2 separate regions of the Homo sapiens genome follow, and region 1 is linked to region 2. The links are contacts of gene promoters, found by promoter capture Hi-C in human tissues and cell types (Jung and others, 2019). All regions are on one chromosome and are shown on one strand. The core of a region is centred on a gene start or on the middle of the fragment in contact, and the rest is flanking DNA. Distances in the headings are between cores, read along the strand shown. Region 1 overlaps PLCE1 (phospholipase C epsilon 1). Region 2 holds the start of PLCE1 (phospholipase C epsilon 1).

Evidence for each region. Contacts are between HindIII fragments. The study calls those that stand out against the background at their distance.
Region 1: a fragment that was not itself captured here is called in contact with the fragment with the promoter of PLCE1 in region 2 in 1 of the 25 tissues and cell types used here (H1 embryonic stem cells).

Annotation. Positions count from the first base shown.
Region 1 is chr10:94,139,596-94,144,604 of GRCh38, reverse strand. The region is part of intron 3 of PLCE1 (phospholipase C epsilon 1); the gene reads right to left. Among named protein-coding and RNA genes, the nearest start is that of PLCE1-AS2, 33 kb to the right of the region's middle. The HindIII fragment of the contact is 3,556 bases long and covers 1,371-4,926 here.
Region 2 is chr10:93,990,100-93,995,243 of GRCh38, reverse strand. PLCE1 (phospholipase C epsilon 1) reads right to left here and starts at 1,313. Exons shown (of 33, transcript NM_016341.4): 1 at 986-1,313. It overlaps LOC105378438 (a long non-coding RNA gene), which reads right to left. Exons shown (of 4, transcript XR_946215.2): 4 at 1,525-2,024. RefSeq lists a silencer at 1,210-1,499. The HindIII fragment of the contact is 15,571 bases long and covers 1-5,144 here.

The DNA of each region.
Region 1 (5,009 bases), core at 1,899-4,398, 150 kb before region 2:
GAAATGTGTTTTACTTGGCCCATCAGCTAACAGGAGCTGCTTCTTTTCCCATTTGATTGACTGTGTTATGAACATGTAACCATCAGTGGGAAGACTCCCACTACCCTCATAGGTGTCTATATCAAAGAATGGAAGGATATCATTTCCACAGACATCCTCAAAATCACTGGAGGTCTCTAGGGCAAGGGGGCAGCAGGTATGTGGGAAAATGATCAATTCTGTAGTCAAATGAACCTCCATTCAAATCTAAGATTTAGTGTTATACTCCATGTATGCACACACACACACAGAGACACACACACACACTGGTATAAGTCAGTACACGGGATCCCTGAGTGGGAGATAATACTGGAGTGTTTCCTAGTAGTTAAGAACATGGCTTTGGGAATCAGAGAGGCTTAGGATCAAATACTGGCTTTGCTCCTACAAGCTGGTCAACCCTAGTTAAGGATTTTGGGTCTAGACTTGGTAGTGTATCAGCCTAGATCTTGTGAGTTGCTAGGGTCTCTGAAACTTGTTATACTCTCTCTTACCCTCCATGTTCCCAGATCATCCACAACAACATCTATTTGAAATGGATTTTAGATGAGTCTGCTTATTGATGCCAAAATGTGTCTCTGAGTATAAACAGGGGCAAAATACCCGCTACTGTCACACAGGGTGTTTCTGGTGACTGTAAAATTCAAAGGTAGATCCTTAGTGGTGTTTGAGCATACATTTGTTCAAGGAATCACTTGTGACATTAACATTATAGAAAATATTTTTTTAAGTTTGTTGTCACAATGAAATATGAAGTTAAAAAGACAAAATACCAAATATATATTTCCAGTTGACAAAACTTGTTAGACTTTCCTGATGATAGTATAATATCTGTAATTAGAATTCAATTACCAAAATCTAAACACCGTTAAAAATATCTTTTTGTTACTTTAACTGTAATAATTTATTCACTATTTCTTGGTTTGAAGACTCAATTCCAGTAGAAGTTTAAATTATGACTCAGACTATGGTGAGATATTCTCTTTTTTATCCTCTTAAGTATTTGCTACTGACCCACATGTTATTATAAACAGATTATAAGCATTTTATTATGTTCTATAAATGTTCCCAAGAGCAAGAATTTTCATAGCTCATTAAAATGAGGCTTACTCTTTAAAAACAATAAACAATTTAGAAACACTCAAAAGTAGAAGTGTCATGTATTGAAAAAAATCCTTTAATTTTATTGTAATGAGTAAGTCATCTTCATTAAAATATACAAATTTTAACTGGAACACTAAATTTTGTCCCAGTCATAGATTTTTAGACAAGGCTCCCAATACCAGGAGTAAATGCTTAGCATCTTTCTACTCTGGAGGGAATAAAATAGAGATGATATCAGCAGAGAATTAAGTAAAAACAACAGAAGTTTCATAATATGGGTCAGGGCTTGTTTTCCCTGGTTAAATACCTGTTTAGATTTCTTCAGGTACTTAAATGGTTGTAGAAACCTCAGATGTCAATGAAGATGGTATAGGGACTTCCCTCTGGGGCCCTATATCCTGTGCTTATTTCAATTATAACATTTATACTATCTTAAAATTTGCACGTTTATTTGTCCATTTCCTCCATTTGTGGGTAAATCCCTCGAAAGTAAAGACTGTATTTTGTTTGCTGTTATATCCTTGGCACATAGTAGATGTTCAACAAATATTGGTCAAATGATTGAATTAATCAGTGGCCTAATGCATGGGAACTAAGGAAAATCTCGCTAAAGGAGTTACACAGGTGTGGCCTCCAGCCACTAGATACCTCCCCTTAGGTGTCCCAGGAGTTGCTAGTGCTCTAGGCCCACAGCTAGGGAAACCTGGAGGGTACTTGTCTTTTCTTGTACATCTACAACTGAGCTAACAGCAGAGTCTTTGAATTAAGAACAGTGGAATGCTGGCATTTCAAGATGGTGGTGGCAATCCTCATTACTACCATCATCATCACCATCATCAGCCCCAGCATGACCATCATCATCATAAGATTGGTTGAACATACATTAGGTACCAGATACTATGCCAAGCTGTTTTTATTTTTAATTTTTAAAGTTTTTGTAGAGAGAGAGTCTCGCTCCATCACCTAGGCGGACAGAGTGCAGTGGCAGGATCATAGCGCACTGCAGCTTCAAATTCCTGGGCTACAGTGATTCTACAGCCTCAGCCTTCTGAATAGGTGGGACCACAGGCACACACCACCACATCTGGCTGGCTTTTTTTTTTTTTTTTTTGAGACAGCATCACGCCATGTTGCCTACACTCGTCTTGAACTCCTGGCCTAACGTGATCTTCTTGGCTTTGCCTCCCAGAGTACAGAGATTACAGGCATGAGCCACCTGGCCTAAGTTCTTTATATACATTGTCACACTTATTCCTCAAAACAACTCTCCGAAGTTGTTGCTTTTATTCCCATTTTGTAGATGCAGAAACTAAAGCCTAGAGGTACAATCACCTGAATAGGATGACCCAATGTTGAAGTCAAGGCTCAAATCCAAAACACAATGAGGCTCACATTTAAAGGCCTTTCTTGGAGGTAACCACTTCTGCAGAGTCTGCAGCTATTCTCTGGCATTTTTAAGAACTATTGTTTTACTTAAATATTCAGTAAGTTTTGGAGGGAAGTTTTGGAATCTAATGGTTGTTTTTTTGGATGCAGTGTTTCAAATAACTATTTTGCAAATAAATTTCTGCAATATGGTCCATTCTGAGTCTCTGTAATTAGGACTTGACATTTTTATAACCAGCTCAGATATGTAAACCCAAAGTGTCTGTCTGGTGTTGCTATCCTCACCAGTCATCTTTCTGACTGCATTGATTAGGATTTAACCAACTTTCAATTACCCGATCTTCCTTCTTTCCTTCCCCTCCCTCCCTCCCTTCCTTCTCTCCCTCCCTTCCTTCTTTCTTTCCTCCCTCCCTCCCTTTCTTCTTTCCTTCCTTCTTTCTTTCCTCCTTCTGCCTTCCTTTCTCCTTCCCTTTGCCTTCCCTTAGCCTTCCCTTCACCTTCCCTTAGCCTTCCCTTCACCTTCCCTTAGCCTTCCCTTCACCTTCCCTTAGCCTTCCCTTCACCTTCCCTTCGCCTTCCCTTCACCTTCCCTTCTCCTTCTCCTCCCTCTCCCTCTCCCTCTCTCTCTTTTTGGTGTCAAAACTTTATGGAGAATTAGGCCATAATTTGTTCCTTTCATAAGCTAGTTTCTTGGAGCAAAATTAGGGCACATAAGAGAATTAAATGGAATCAGTCTCCCAGCTCAAAATGGGTGTATTCACACCTAGGAATGGAGTGCTATGTTCAGGTCACACCTGGTGACGGAGTCACATTCCTTGGTCACAACTGGTATGGAGTCATATTCTTAGGTTACACCCAGGTGTAGTGTCACACTCCTGGATGATACTTGACCACCTGTGGTCCTAAAACAGGTTTTTGTCCTGTGCCTACCAAGCTTCCTGGCCCTATGACCTACTCATACCACCTTTAATGTAGCAGCCTAGCACTTTATGAATTCTCTTTAGGTGGTAAGGGCTCCTTCAGTAGACCTGAAACCTAATATTACATTTTCTCTGGAATGAGAAATATTATCTTACAAGTTGAAGACTTCCAGATGTGATCTTCTCCATTCTTAGGTGCCATAGCACTAGGCCACAGTGGGCAGCTAATGAATACTTTTTAGTTGATTAACTGGTAGAGAAACACACCCAATATTACATTAAAGCATACTTTTAAATACCAAGAAAATAATTTCAAGGTCACAATACTAACAAGTCAGGATATTTCTTTAAATAAACAAATCTTGGAATTAGAGCTATGCACATGCCTTCCTTGCCTAGTAGGCATGTAAAGGGTAATCGTTTTGATTTTGAGGAAGTCAACTAAGCCAGCCTTTACAAACTAAAGTATTTACGAGTTATAATCATGTAGTTCAAATGTGTATGTGTATTCCTACTATAACTTCTTGTTTTTTATTCAAAGCTATTAACTTTAGAGAAAGATACAAATAGAATATACAAGCTTATTGTAGTGAAAGAAAATAAGTTGAAAACTTGATGGGAGTCTCACTGTGTTGCCCAGGAGGGAGTACAGTGGTGTGTTCTCGGCTCACTGCAACCTCCTCCTCCTGGGTTCAAGCAGTTCTCATGCCTCAGCCTCCTAAGTAGCTGGGACTGCAGGTGTATGCCACCACGCCTGGTTAACTTTTTTTTTTTTTTTGTATTTTCAGTAGTAACAGGTTTCATCATGTTAGCCAGGCTGGTCTCAAACTTCTGACCTCAAGTGATGTGCTCGCCTCGACCTCTCAAAGTGCTGGTAGACTTTTCTATCTGAAATAAAATATTCCCTCTTTTCAAACAAAAATATTGTATCTGTAAGGTATTTTTGTTTTCATATCAATATTCTATTTATAGCTGACATGTGATAAATAACTTTAATATAGCTAAATATAGTCTACAGACACACATACCACACACTCAGACTGGTTAAAAATGAACAGTTTAGTTTTTTTTTCTAATACATAATGTATTATTATTTTTAAAAATAGAAATGTACCATTTTATTACAAAGTCTCACAAAAAGAAAATAGTATCCAAAAAAGGAAACTAGACTACCAATCTGCACCTGCAGAATTGGAGGAACACAGAGGGCAGGCAGTGTGAGCTTCCTGGCTTACTTGAGGACAATGGGGAGGTATGAGAACAGAACCAATCTAAAACATCTAATATTACCTTAGGAACCTGGAAAGAACAGAGGATCCTTGGAGATCCAGCCACCCCTTCTAGAATGCTAATAAGGACACCTTTCCAAAACTACTATATGGCTACCTACAAGTATCCCTCCCACCCAGCCCTGGCTCCCTTTATGGTTCAAAGTTAAGAACTGGGGAGGAAAGGGGGGCAAGGCAGCTCCTGGAAGAGCTCACCCAGCACAGCTGCCCTGGACTCAGGACCCTGGTTTCTGTCTTTCACTCTAGTCCCCAAGATATTTATGTTTAGTAA
Region 2 (5,144 bases), core at 64-2,563:
GCATACAATAACCTAGAGATAGTCCACCTCTCTCCTCAATGACAACTGGGCACCTGTACAAGCACCTATGGGGTCACCTGCTTCCACCTCCCAAGTCAGGCTCTCAAAAATTCTCCCTAGTGGGGTCAAGCATTCTTGGCCTCAGTAGTGCCCATTCTGTGGCAGCGGCCCTGCCCTACCTCTACGGGGGGTATAAGAAACATGAAAACATACCAATCCTGCAGAGATCTAAAAGACCTACGGGCAAATTTTGCATAATGCAACTGAAATTATGACCTTCGTGCAAATAAAACTTTTCGAAGACGTGAATCCTACTTAACAGGTATTCAGGGAACTCACTATTTAAAATGACACTGATTAATCACTAAATGAGTCTTACACTGAATAATTGGTTAAGTCGGCTGAACTCAGTGTCTGATGGCTTAAATACAGAGCGAGGGGCGAAAGCTTCCACAAATTTACGCTGTGCACCTAACATTCGCCACGACAGAAGACTTCTTGCTCTAGTGTATTTATTACTGTAGCATTAAAGGACTTGAAGGCAAAGCTAGCTATTCTAGTTATCAGTTAGAGCGGGACCTGGTCCAATATTGTATTTTCTAGGACTTGATGTACACAAATCTCTCCAGGAACAATCTCTTGAGCACTTTCCTTGAAATACCGCTGCTAAGTACCGCCACAAAAAGAGCTTACGTTTTTCTTTGCACTGGCCACCTCCACACCGTATTCACAACACGAAGGGGCGACCTGAGGCAGGCGTCTGGAGTGAAGGCACTGGCAGGGTGTCCTTTAGCCCCTGCGAGGGCGGCCTGCATGCCCTGGAGGACCGCCCGCCTCGGGTCCCCCGGGAGCGCGAGGACACTTTTCCGCCAGGTACGCGGAGTCGGGCTGCTCCCTTAGGCGGGTCGACTGCCTTGGGAGAGAACCAGCCCATCCTTCCCTTTCTCCAGTCCTCAGGAACCGAGCTACAGAGTCGCTTCCTCACCTCTTGGCTCCTGGCGAGTCTCGCCGGCGTCCCCAAGCGCAGCGTCCCTCTGGGACCAGCCGTCCGCGCGCCTGTCGCTAGCGGCGTCGGGTGTCCCCGCTACTGTGTGTCAGCTGCAGAGCCGATGCCCAGGAACGCGCAGGAGCCAGGCAAGTGCCCGAGAGGCAGAGCCCGGGAGGCAGAGCCCGGGAGGTAGAGCCCGGGCGCGCCGCCGCTGCCCCTCCCGCCGCGCGAGCCCGCCGCCCGCCGCGTTGCCCACGTTGCCCAGCGTTACCGTGTGGACCCGCGCCGTTCACAGTCCGCTCCCGCCGAGATGTGCGCGCTGCCCGGACAGCGGCGGCTGCGCGGGCGGCAGCGGGGCCCCCGCCCTGGGCCGGGCTTTCCCAGAACTCGCCCGCCCCGGGTGAGAGGCCGCTAGCGCCACCGCGGGCGGCCGGGCGGGGGAGCGGCCTGTGCCGGGCCCGCCCCCGGCTCCTGCCGCGCGGGGAAGGCGGGCGCGGAGCGAGGACCCGGCCGCCTCCCCCGGAGCTGGCTGCTGGCGGCGCGACCCCTTCCCAGACCCCTGGCCCTGACCCCTAGGAGCCATCCTTTCTGGCGGGAGCCAGAGAGAGCGCTCCTGGGGCGCCCGGCTCCGGGAAGGGCGGGAACTCTGCACACCTCAGGCGGCGGGAATTTACTCTCACACTACCCCAGGGAACCACCCCTGGTTGACAGATATGGAAACTGAGGTTCACGGCAGATAAAGGACACGATCAAGGTCTCTGTAGTAGATGGCAGCACCAAGTCTCGAATCTGTTCTGTCACTCGTTCATTTAATACATATTCATTGAGCCCCATCAATGTGCCCAGCGTTGTGCCAGGCTCCGGAAATACTCCTTTTGCTGGTAATGGTGGCCATCCAGGACTGCGGACTCCAAATCCAGTACTCTTTCATTGCTCAAGCAAACCTGAAGATCTTCACAACTAGAAACTACAGGCTTTGCACAGAACTTCCTTAGCCGCTGGAGCGGCTTTTATGAGTCTTAGGAGAGCCAAGGACCTGGAAAAAAAAATCAAATCATCATCCTCCTCCCTTTCGCCTAAACCTGTGCCTCCTCCCTCTACCTGTTCTAATGGAAGACCGTTCCCTAGGCCTGACCTCTTCTCCTACATCCGATCAGGACCCATTCCTGTGGCCCATATCGCCTCCCACTGTCCTCTCCCTTGGACCAAATCAATCCTTCAAACCACCGCTGTATTATTCTTCCTTTTTTACAACTTTAATCTATGCAGAAAACTTCACTGGCTCCCTATTGCCCTCCAAACTAACTCTCCATGGCTGTGTAACCCAGCATGCCCTGGCTAATAAGGATCACCCAACAGAATGTCTCTCCCACTCTAGCTCTGTACCTGAACTTAAGCTGAGCCTTCTACCTGGAGCATCTCCTCCCACACACTTTCCTCCTGCTCATGTTTGACCCTTTCTTTCGGGTCCCTCTTAAAAGTGATCTCTCCTTCTTGGAGGCTCCAGAACACAGGAGAGGTTGGAGCAAGAAAGCACAGGAGGCCCAAAGAATCCTGCTGTTAAGAAAAATCTGCCAGTCTGGTCCTTAAACTGTCTTGCTGTTTTCTCACCACTAGGACTTTAATGAAAACTAACATGATTGCCTCCCTGGAGAGCTGATTTCAGAAAGGTCTCTGCAGAGGGCTCTAAAGAAATTCTTTGTTCCTTAAGATCTTGGCATTTTAGCACTAGGACAGTGAGAAGTGGTAATTTACTCAATCCCTGAGGCTATGTTATCCTGAACAAGTAAATAAAGGGCTGAGGAAAGAGGTAGCATCACTGACAATAAACAAGGTAGGCTATTTATTTAATATACAGTATTATATTATGGTTTTATAATTCATTTAATGATCAAATAATATCAAACTTCATCCATCACCTGGCACCCCCAAAGACTTTTTTTTTTTAATTTGGCACATGGGAATAGATAGCTACAAACTGGTAGATGCACAAGCAGTTAACATTGAATCCTCCAAATGAGTCATTGCATGATTAGTAAGCAAGGCAAATCTAGGTCCGTTGAGCAGGAAAGTTATCCAAGTGTGATAATCACTGTGGCCCCATCCCTAGAAAGGGGCGCCTTCCTCAAATCTTTGCAAAGAGAGCAGGTCCAGATCAGTGTCCTTTGCTCGCCCCATGGCTCCCTCTCTAAACGAGATTGGAGGGAAGTCGTGTCCCCGAGGCTGCCTCACCACATTGGAATGTCTGAGCTAACAGTACTTCCAGAGTGTTCATTGCTCCTCTGAACAGCACTGCCCAGACTTTCTGGAGATTTTAATTCACTCCCCAACCTCGCCAACAGTTGCACACAAGGTGCCTTTTTTACACCCTGCTCTCTGTTCAGTGAAACACACAGACCATCTCAGGGGAACAATGGCTCCATTCAAGACTTTTTCAGAAGTGCACCATATAACCTCCACTCTGTGGGCTGCTGCCAGCCATTATCTAGAGGAAGAAAGACTGTCAGATAAAGCGCCTGAGAATTGGGAAAGCACTGGATAATTTCCATGGAAAATTCAGCTTCAGTAAACTAAGTTATGCATCTCTTTATACAAGACCATTCTGCATAGACAACAACAACAGCCCCAAGAAACAATCCTGTGGAGACTTTATTTCAGTAAAGTGCATCTATGTTTGAAATTTCAGAAGAAAACACACATGTCTTTTGAGCTTATTACATTACATACTGGTCTCCAGTCAATGGAAATTGATTTAAATACATGATAAACATAGAGACTAGGGAATTTAAGTAGTAAAATTATTTTAAGAAACGGAACCATCTTCCCTCTTTCTTTCTGCCTCCCCTATCCTGTAATTTTCAGAAAGGAGGTGGGGGCAGTGGTCTCTGACTTCATGGTGGTGGTTGCCAACAAGAGGCCCCACACCCTCTACTGCACATATTACAGAAGAAGGATTGGCGCTTTGCCACACTCAACAAGCCAGCCATCAGTTAACCCGTTCATAAACAAACCATTAGTTTGGGAACTGAGTAGTCAGTGTGGGCACCATTGACTAATGCATTGATCTTTGTCAAACAGCTGCTGATCGTCAAACAGAGGAATTTGCCAACAGACATCTGGGTAGCACAAAGGCCAAGGAAGGACTGAAGGAACAAGGCAGCCCTCAGCTTTTGCAGTTGCCATTTTCTCCCTTTCAAAGTCACTGCATCAAACTGTACCGGGCTTACTAGCTGTCTGCAAATAGACTAGCAAGTTCAGATGGTGAGCAGAGAGCCAAAAACACACTTCCTAGAGTTGTCTTGTATGTGAGGTTAGATGTACTAAGGCAGTTTGAGGTTGATGAAAAACAACCAGCTTGTTAAAGCTGTAGGTATCTCTACCTGTGTGACATGGTTAGGAGTGAGGGTCCCCAGGGAACAGTAAGCAAAGCAGGGAAAGATGATCTTAAACATCCTCTCTCAGCGCAGCCGGTGTTAGGGGAACAGAATTTGGTGTGGGACCACTTGAGTTGGATGCTCAGATCCACCCCCAAGTTGTGAGCCCTCGGACAGGTTACTTATCTCACTGTGCCTCATTTTCCTCTAGATAAATTGTACCTACCTGATATGGTTTGGCTGTGTCCCCACCCAAATCTCAAATTGTAGTTCCCATAATTCCCCCGTTGTTGGAGGGACCCAGTGAGAGGTAATTGAATCGTGAGGATGGGCCTTTCCCATGCTGTTCTCATGACAGTGAATAAGTCTCACGAGATCTGATGGTTTTATAAAGGGGAGTTTTCCTGCACATGCTCTTTCTGTCTTGCCTGCTGCCATGTAAGCTGTGACTTTGTTCCTCCTTGCCTTCTGCCATGATTGTGAGGCCTCCCTAGCCAAGTGGAACTGTGATTCCATTAAATCTCTTTTTCTTTATAAATTACCCAGTCTTGGGTATGCTTTATGAGCAGCGTGAGAACAGACTAATACAGTACCCCTCAGCGTAATTGTGAGGATTAAATGAGCCAGTGTATATGAAAACACTTAGAACGTATAAAGGTTTATTACTTAAATAAATAAAACTCAGATTTTTATTTTCATTTAGACTTATGGTATTTAAAGGCCATAAACCCCTTTGAATATTCCAAAATCTTGTCAATCTTTTGACAGAACATTTTTTTCTT